Linked DNA regions of Homo sapiens: regions 1 and 2 are each linked to region 3. The links are contacts of gene promoters, found by promoter capture Hi-C in blood cells and fetal thymus (Javierre and others, 2016). All regions are on one chromosome and are shown on one strand. The core of a region is centred on a gene start or on the middle of the fragment in contact, and the rest is flanking DNA. Distances in the headings are between cores, read along the strand shown.

Region 1 (2,707 bases), core at 185-2,684, 1.1 Mb after region 3:
GGGGACGGGACTCCCCGAGGCTTTAGAGGCTGTTTAATATTTAATAAGCTCAAACACATAAACACAGAGCACCTATTTCGTTCTCCTTCAGACTCTCTGATAAAATATTCTCGGGTCGGGATCATCTGAGCTAGTTTGGGTGGGCTGTTGCTTGTGGAGTCAGGAAACCTCTTAGCAAGGTCTGCGCTCCATCTAGAGTGTTCCTTTAGACTCAAATAGATGCCCTAAGATTCAGTCCTGCTAAGTGTGCCCCCAAAACCCGTTTAAAATGTAGGTCTGATTATGATTCAGCTGTGGTGAGGCCAGCAGATGAGGAGAGGACAGACATTGAAAAGATTGTCACTCAGTTCCTGGGAGAAGGGGCCACACCATGCCACGCAGGGCCATGTGGGAGGCATTGGGGAGCCGGGAAACAATTGGGCAAGAGCATTTTTTGTGGTTTCTTTGGGGAGGAACGGGCAAGGCTGGGAGAGCAGGCTTGGGATTGGCTAGTTTAAATAATTTCAGCGGGCTCTGCAGCATGGGGGCTGCCCCCTAGTTGTCTGGTACGTGTCCCTAGGGTGGTGAGGGCAGGGAAATAGTGGCCCTGGGTGTGAGAGCCGAGAGGTGGTGGGAGGGGTGGACCCTGGATCCATGGTGACATGTGGAAGTCTTGGGGTCTGGAAATTGGCTAACCCTGGCACCAGCAGTCCCTCCAGGCCCAGCAAGGTCACAGACATCCAAGCATCATAAAGCCATGGTCAATACACAGCCAGACTCGGAACTGTCCATGCAGACCCTCTGAATCCGAGACATAGCCTTCATTTATTTCCCTGGTTACCCAGAGACCTGGAATGTTCTTTGTGAACCCTGGAAGCACTCCCTGCTCCATGCTGGTAGTTAAGGAAATGCAACATTGCCACCTACTGCTGAGGCTCTCCTGAAAATCAGAAAAAGAAGCCACTTTTTTTTTTTTTCTTTTTTTTTGAGACAGATCTGCCTGCCTCGGCCTCCCAAAGTGCTGGGATTACAGGCATGCCCGGCCAAAAACTATGCCCGGCCAAAAACTATGCCCAGCCAAAAACTGGATTAAAAAAAAAAAAGAAGAAGAGGCTGGCCTGTAACCTGAGTACTTTGGGAGGTCAGGGTAGGATAATTACTTGAGCTCAGGAGTTCAAGACCAGCCTGGGCAACATAGTGAGACCCCATCTCGACAGAAAATAAAAAATTAGTCAGCATGGTGGCTTATATCTGTAGTCCCAGCTATCTGGGAGGCTTAGACAGACAGGTCACTTGATCCCAGGAGGTCGAGGCTGCAGTGAACTGTGGTTGCACACTGCACTCCAGCCTGAGTGACAGAGCAAGACCCCATCTCAAAAAGAAAAAAAAGAAAAAAAAATTTTGACTTTGAATCCAAACCCTCAGCCCTCCCCATCTTCCCAGGAGGCTCTTGTCCCTGGTGCCACCGGTGTGCACCATGCCTCTCTGGGCGTGCGGGTGGAGAGGTCTGAGCTCTGTTTCTCTGCAGGCGTTTTTGACTCAGCCGTTCCCTGGCAGGGAGGGAAAGCTCAGGATGAGCTCCATACCCTCCCCTAACAGAACAATGATATGACAGGCCCGGAGCTCACGGGGTTTTCCAGGCTGTCGTCTTGGTGATAAAAGTTAACAGGAAACTGCTTTCCACTTCCGTCGAGAGGAGGTGATTTTTTTTCTCTTCATCTCAGAATATGCGTGTTATTTCCTGTACCTTCTCTGCCCCTTTTATGGCTAGACAACAGAGAGCTTGGTGGAAATGAAGGCAGTCACAGAGATGTAGAATTTGCCACCTCAATTCAGTTTTCCATCATATGAGAGTGGAAACGAAAAGGGAAGCGTTATATTTTCTTAATATACTATTCAGGAGAAAATTGGGGTGGAAGAGGCAGGATGTCTTTACTCTTTACTTTTTAAGAACTAAAGCAAATGAGATTCTTTTAAGAAACATATGGCATTACTTTGAAAATTAAGTTATTTCAGACCTTATATGAATTTAGACTCAAAATCATCATTAGAGCACAAAGGCCACCGTCAACTTCAGGAGGCTTCTGTTAATATTCTGGTGTTAGGATTGCTTTCTCTCTTCCTTGCCTCCCCTTTCTCTCCCTTTCCTCGCTTTTCCTTCTTTTCCTTCCTTTAGTTTCTTTTATTATTCTGCCTACCCTTTGCCAGAGGCCCTTTGCAAAGGATGTAGATTTATTTATTTATTTTTGAGACGGAGTTTCGCTTTTGTTGCCCAGGCTGGAGTGCAATGGCATGATCTCAGCTGACTGCAACCTCCGCCTCCCAGGTTCAAGCGATTCTCCTGCCTCAGCCTCCCAAGTAGCTGGGATTACGGGTGTCCGCCACCACGCCTGGCTAATTTTTTGTATTTTTAGTAGAGACAGGCTTTCACCATGTTGGCCAGGCTGGTCTCGAACTCCTGACCTCAGTTGATCCACACATCTTGGCCTCCCAAAGTGCTGGGATTACAGGCATGAGCTACGATATAGATTTATTTTTTGAAAATCAAATCATTAAAAAGTCAGGAAACAACAGGTGCCGGAGAGGATGTGGAGAAATAGGAACACTTTTACACTGTTGGTGGGACTGTAAACTAGTTCAACCATTGTGGAAGACAGTGTGGCGATTCCTCAAGGATCTAGAATTAGAAATACCATTTGACCCAGCCATCCCATTACTGGGTATATAC
Region 2 (2,957 bases), core at 297-2,796, 2.0 Mb before region 3:
CAGGGCCCTGGGCCTGGTCCATGAAATCATTCTTTCCTCCCAGGCCTCTGGGCCTGTGATGGGAGGGGTTTCAGCAAAGGTTTCTGAAATGCCTTTGGGGACTTTTCTCCATTATCTTGGATATTAGCAGTTGGCTTTTGGTTATGCAAATATCTCTAGCAAGTGGATGCCTCACAGCCTGCTTGAATTCCTCTCCTGAAAAAGCTTTTTCTTTCTCTGCCATATGGCCAGGCTGTAAATTTTCCAAATTTTTACACTCTGCTTTCCTTTTTAATATAAGTTCCAATTCGAAGTCATTTCTTTGCTCCCACATCTGAGCACATGCTATTAGAAGCAGCCAGCCCAAATCTTGAACACTTTGCTGCTTAGAAATTTTTTCCACCAGATACCCCAGGTTGCCACTCTTTAGTTCAAACTTCCACAGATCCCTAGGGCATGGACAGAATGCAGCCAAGTTCTTTGCTAAGGCATAATATGTGTCACCTTTGCTCCAGTTCCCACTAAGTTCCTCATTACCATCGAAGACCTTGGCAGCCTGGACTTCATTATCCATATCACTATCAGAATTTTAGTTGCAACTTTTAAACAGTCTCTAAGAAGTTCCAAATTTTCCCTCATCTTTATGTCTTCTGAGCCTTCCAAACTCTTCCAACCTCTACCCATTATCTTGTTCCAAAGTCAGTTCCACATTTTCAGGTATCTTTATAACAAAACCCCACTCCTGGTACCAATTTTCTGTAATAGATCATTCTTGCATTGCTATAAAGAAATACCCGAGACTGGGTAACTTATAAAGAAAAGAGGTTTAATCTGCTCACAGCTCTGCAGGCTTTATAGGAAACATGGTGCTGACATCTGCTTGGCTTCTGGGGCAGCCTCAGGAAGCTTATAATCATGGAGGAAGGCGAAGGGGAAACAGGCATGTCACACGGTGAAAGCAGGAGCAAGACAGCGAGAGTATGGGACAGGTGCCACACACTTTTAAGTGGCCAGCTCTCATGTGAACTCAGAGCAAGAGCTCACTTATCACCAAGGGTATGGCCCAAGCCATTCATGAGGGATCTACCCCCACGATCTAAACACCTCCCACCAGGCCGATCTCCAACACTGGCTTTTATAACTCAACATGAGATTTGAGCAGGGACAAATATCCAAACTCTATTATGTATTTACGCTCAGGAGTACAAAGTTTCCATAAGCACCACCATTGCCTATTCCTTAACACAATATGTTAAGTTATAAATAAACAATATGGTTTGCCACTTAACAAGAAGTAGAAAGTTCAGTAGCACATCCTTATCTCCAATGCTGCCAGACATGTAACTAAGTGAGGTAGTTATTAGCTTCCTTTTCATAAGAAAATTCAATGCTTTTATAAAGTTTTTCAGTGCCTCTAGAAAAGCGGAAGCCTTTACAAAGGAGATTTGCTTTATGTTAATTATGCAAAATCAAGGGTTATTAACAAAAGACCATGTGAATGAGAGAAGCTGAGGAATGTAACTTCATCTTACTCTAATACTCAAATGGCAGATAATTATTTCTGGACAGAGTATGGAGCCACAGAAATAAAATACTCTAACCTTGAAAATTCAGCTACTCAGGAGGCTGAGGCTGGACAATCACTTGAACCTAGGAGGCGGAGGTTTCAGTGAGCCAACATCGCGCCACTTCACTCCAGTGTGGGTTACAGAATGAGACTCCATCTCAAAAAAACAAACAACAACAACAACAATTCCTGCTCCCTTTTTGTATTATGGATAGACATATCAACTTTATGGGTGACAATTACATTGGAAAGGACAGTGAATGCGATAAGTAACACCATCAAATCCAAAAGGTCTTGATAAGCTACAACAATGGGCCAATTGTAACAGACGAAATGTGACAGATATAAGATCTTCCTCTTTTATCAAAAAATGAATTGCAAAAGTACAGAATACAGGGAAAGTTTAACAATAACATGAAATGACATAGTACTTTTCTGAAAGAAAGATTAACATGATGTCACTGTCAAAAAAATGATGCTTAGAGCATGGACTGCATCATTAGAGTAACGGTATCATTTCCACTCAGAAGGGCATGCTTTTCTAGGAGGCATATTGGAATATCTGGGAAGTGTGTACCTGAAATTGAGGAAAGCATAGTCAATATTATTATGTAATTTTAAAATTAAAAATACAGAAAAAAAGAGACAAAATGAAGCTTTACAAAATCTTCCAGGCTGGGCATCTAGGAAATAAGCAGTGATTTTTTAGTGGGTTAGGGATGGTCAGGCTTGGGAGCATGACATTTTCGTGTATAGCCAAGGGAAGTAGTTATTGAGTAATTCAGTTTTTGAGTAATTCAGCTGGAAGAAGGAGAAAAGAGTCAACTGTACTCTCATTCGTAAGACCCACCGTATATCCTCTGGTTCTGCTTTACATTTAATTCACTTGTTTCCAAATGTTTATTGAGCATCAGCTATGTGATACGTACTCAGCGCACTGAGGATAAAGCAGAGAACAAGACAGCCATACAAGACTATCAGCTGATGTCTCCCAGCTTCACAAAGCACACTTCCCAGCTCCATCTTGCTTGATTTCCTGAGCCAGTCCTGAGGCAAAAACCTTAATATTCTTATCTGGTGAAACATACATTGAGCCAACTTCCCAGATCTAGTGGCCAAGGGATAAGTTTCCTGATTCCAAATTGTGTCACCATGAAGTTTCACTGCTAGCAATCAGGACCCTGGACAGGCTAACCATCATCCTAGCAAATTAATCAAACCTGAGAAGGGGGTGTGGGAACCCTGATTTATAGCTGGTCAGTCAGAAGTGTAGGTGACAGTCAACCTAAAGTCTTGTGGAAATGAACCCTTAACTTGTGGGATTTGACTATAAGTTGAGGTAGACAGTGTCAGAATTAAGTTAAACTGTAAGACACCGAGCTGGTGTCTGCTGGAGAACTGTTTCATGTGT
Region 3 (2,700 bases), core at 102-2,601:
TAGCCAGGCTGGTCTAGAACTCCTAACCTCACGTGATCCGCCTGCCTCGGCTTCCCAAAGTGCTGGGATTACAGGCGTAAGCCACCGCGCTGGGCCCCTTTCTTCCCATTTCTACAAATGAAGTAGTATTATTCCCTTTGGCTTTTCCTAACAAGTCATTTGACATTTAAACGCGGGACTAGTGGCAACGGAGTTCATGATTATCGTTTCTTCTGCCTCCCCACTGATGAGAGAAAGGCCACAAGTCCTGTCAGGCTCTCACTTCCAGAAAGGCCACCTCTGTAGACCACGCACCATCAACTGGCTTCACAGCCAGGCAGCTTTGCGGGACCATCAGCCCCAGCTCGACTGCAGCCTCCCCGCCCCTCCGGGACCTAGACGTTCGGGCCCAGCTCAGCGCGTTCTGCGGCCCTGCTGTCCCAGAGACCACCGCCTCCAAGTACCTCGCGGCCACAACTTTCCCAGGACCTCCCACCCGCGGGAATCCTGAGGCCCTGACGTCAGCGAGACCCCTTCCGGCATCCAGAGGCCAGGACGTCCCCGTGACCTCCCCCAAAATGCTCGCAGCCCCGCCGTCCCCGGGACCCCCCGGGACACCCAGCGGCCCCGCTGTCTCCGGGACCCCCCCGGGCACCCTGCAGCTACGTCGTCCCTGGGACCCCTCCGGGCATCCCGCCGCCATGACGCCCTGGGACCCCGCGCGTCTACATCGCCGCGAGCCTCCGCCGCGGAGTAGACGACTTTCCGGAGGAATCGCCAGGCGCGAGGCCGGGCCTGCCCGGCCCTTCGCTCCGGAGTGTCCTCGCGGCAACGCCACTCCACGACATCCCTAGGCCGGCGACACGCCGCTCTCAAGCCTGTGGATGACCCAGCGCCAGAAAACCGGGTGGCCGTCATGAAGCCCTAGCCCAGCTCCGCAGCCCCTCACCTTATAGACGGCCACACAGGCTGAGGTGCAGCCCAGGTGAACTCCGATGGCCGCCATGAGGCAGCAGGGACGGCAGCGGCAGGAATGAGGGGGTCCCCCAACAGCAACAGCTACCGGCCGCCCAACGGCCCCATCAGGCACCGCGGAGCTTCACGTTCCCGCCAGCCCCCTGCGTCCGGTCGGCCGCTACAGCCTCCCGCGTCGCCGCCAATCAGCGTGAAGGTTCCGCCTTTCTTCACGCGCAGTCCGCGAGTAGCTTCAGCGCGTCTCTGCGCTCCGCGGAAACTGCACAGTGCGCACGCGCAACCGGGGAGGGACGGGAAAAGGCTCCTACACTCCGCCCCCTTCCTATCCCTTCCTTGAGAGCCAATGGAAACTCTGTGTTCAGTTGCGTCATTTGTCCTGGCAACTACTGGCAGATTCTTTCCAACCTCGAATTCTGCTCAGCTCGCTTTGGCAGCTTGGTGGGCGGTGGGCGCGGGTGGCGGAGGCGATTGAAGCTGCTGGCCCAGCATGTGGTGCGCGAGCCCAGTTGCTGTGGTGGCCTTTTGCGCCGGGCTTTTGGTCTCTCACCCGGTGCTGACGCAGGGCCAGGAGGCCGGGGGGCGGCCAGGGGCCGACTGTGAAGGTGAGCGGTGTGACAACTGCTTGCATGGCGGCGGCCCCGCGCTGCGGCGCAGCAGCTGTCGGCTTTGGCTTCTCCTGGCCCTGGCTATAAATAACATTCCGCCCAGGAAATGCAGGCCCTGTCCCTCGTTTTAGATCGCCCAAGCCCAGCTCGAGTAAAAAGCTCAAGCCGGGCCTGGTGGTAACGTGAGGCCACGTTGTGGTTTTGCTGTGAATATTAAACTTCAGCAGTAAAAGCTGGTGGGTTTGTATTTGGATTAGAGTTTGTGCAAAGAATGCTAGATTCAGATGATACTGGCGCCAGATTGATTCTGCTGCTTCCAACCAGCAAGATTTGCCTCCCCTTGCACAGAAGACGTCTTTCAAGTCCAAGCTAGTTGGTGACTCCCCAAAGGAAAACAAAACATGGCATTGAGTTGAGTAGCTTAAATCAGAGGACATAGCTAATATTTGTTAGGACTCTGTAGGTGAAAATTGCTTTGCAAAGGAGTACACTGACTCCTTGGGAAAGAGAGGAATACAAAAGAGTGGTTCCTTTTTGTTCACGGTATCTCAGCTGTGAACTCGCAGTCAGAATACGTGAGTCTGTATCCCACCAAGTCCCCTAGCTCTGAGACTTTGGTTTTTGCAAAATCAGCGTACTTCACTTTAGAGATCTGTTAGCAAAGGCAAAGAAGGTAAGTGGCTATGCTAGCCCCTTCCTTCTGGACTCCTGTAGCGCTCACTCCATGTTTTACTGAAAATAATTAGTTTAAATGTATATGCCCTCAGCTGGAAAATATATCCCTAGTGAACAGGAAATTGTAGGTTCATCATATATGTTGAGTGAATGGATGGGTATAGTCGTACTAAAGTTGTGTTTTTGTTTGTTTTGTTGTTTTGTTTTTTGTTTTTGTTTTTGTTTTGAGACAGTCTCACTGTGTTGCCCAGGCCGGAGTACAGTGGCACAATCTTGGCTCACTGCAGCCTCCATCATCGGGTTCCAGCGATTCTCCTGCCTCAGCCTCCCAAGTAGCTGGTACTAAAGGCACCACCACCACGCCTGACTAATTTTTATATTTTTAATAGAGATGCAGTTTCACCATGTTGGCCAGACTGGTCTTGAACTCCTGGCCTCAGGTGATCGGCCCGCCTCAGCCTCCCAA

The links. The method cuts DNA at HindIII sites, captures the fragments that hold promoters and counts their contacts. A CHiCAGO score of 5 or more calls a contact.
Region 1: a fragment that was not itself captured here is called in contact with the fragment with the promoter of CDNF in region 3 in 1 of 17 cell types (naive CD8 T cells); the score reaches 6.4 in naive CD8 T cells.
Region 2: a contact is called between a fragment that was not itself captured here and the fragment with the promoter of CDNF in region 3, in 1 of 17 cell types (neutrophils). The highest score is 5.6, in neutrophils.

Annotation. Positions count from the first base shown.
Region 1 is chr10:13,786,127-13,788,833 of GRCh38, reverse strand. The region is part of intron 5 of FRMD4A (FERM domain containing 4A); the gene reads left to right. Among named protein-coding and RNA genes, the nearest start is that of PRPF18, 200 kb to the right of the region's middle. RefSeq lists enhancers at 1-525, 1,341-1,390. The HindIII fragment of the contact is 4,505 bases long and covers 1-2,707 here.
Region 2 is chr10:16,819,994-16,822,950 of GRCh38, reverse strand. LOC105376435 (a long non-coding RNA gene) reads right to left here. Exons shown (of 3, transcript XR_930708.3): 3 at 1,694-2,123. Among named protein-coding and RNA genes, the nearest start is that of RSU1, 4.0 kb to the right of the region's middle. RefSeq lists a silencer at 1-86. The HindIII fragment of the contact is 1,317 bases long and covers 888-2,204 here.
Region 3 is chr10:14,836,688-14,839,387 of GRCh38, reverse strand. CDNF (cerebral dopamine neurotrophic factor) reads left to right here and starts at 1,351. Exons shown (of 4, transcript NM_001029954.3): 1 at 1,351-1,556. The coding sequence starts at 1,442. HSPA14 (heat shock protein family A (Hsp70) member 14) reads right to left here and starts at 1,082. Exons shown (of 14, transcript NM_016299.4): 1 at 929-1,082. The coding sequence starts at 985. MSANTD7 (Myb/SANT DNA binding domain containing 7) reads right to left here and starts at 1,082. Exons shown (of 5, transcript NM_001378785.1): 1 at 929-1,082. RefSeq lists an enhancer at 799-1,038 and a silencer at 1,189-1,298. The HindIII fragment of the contact is 8,843 bases long and covers 1-2,700 here.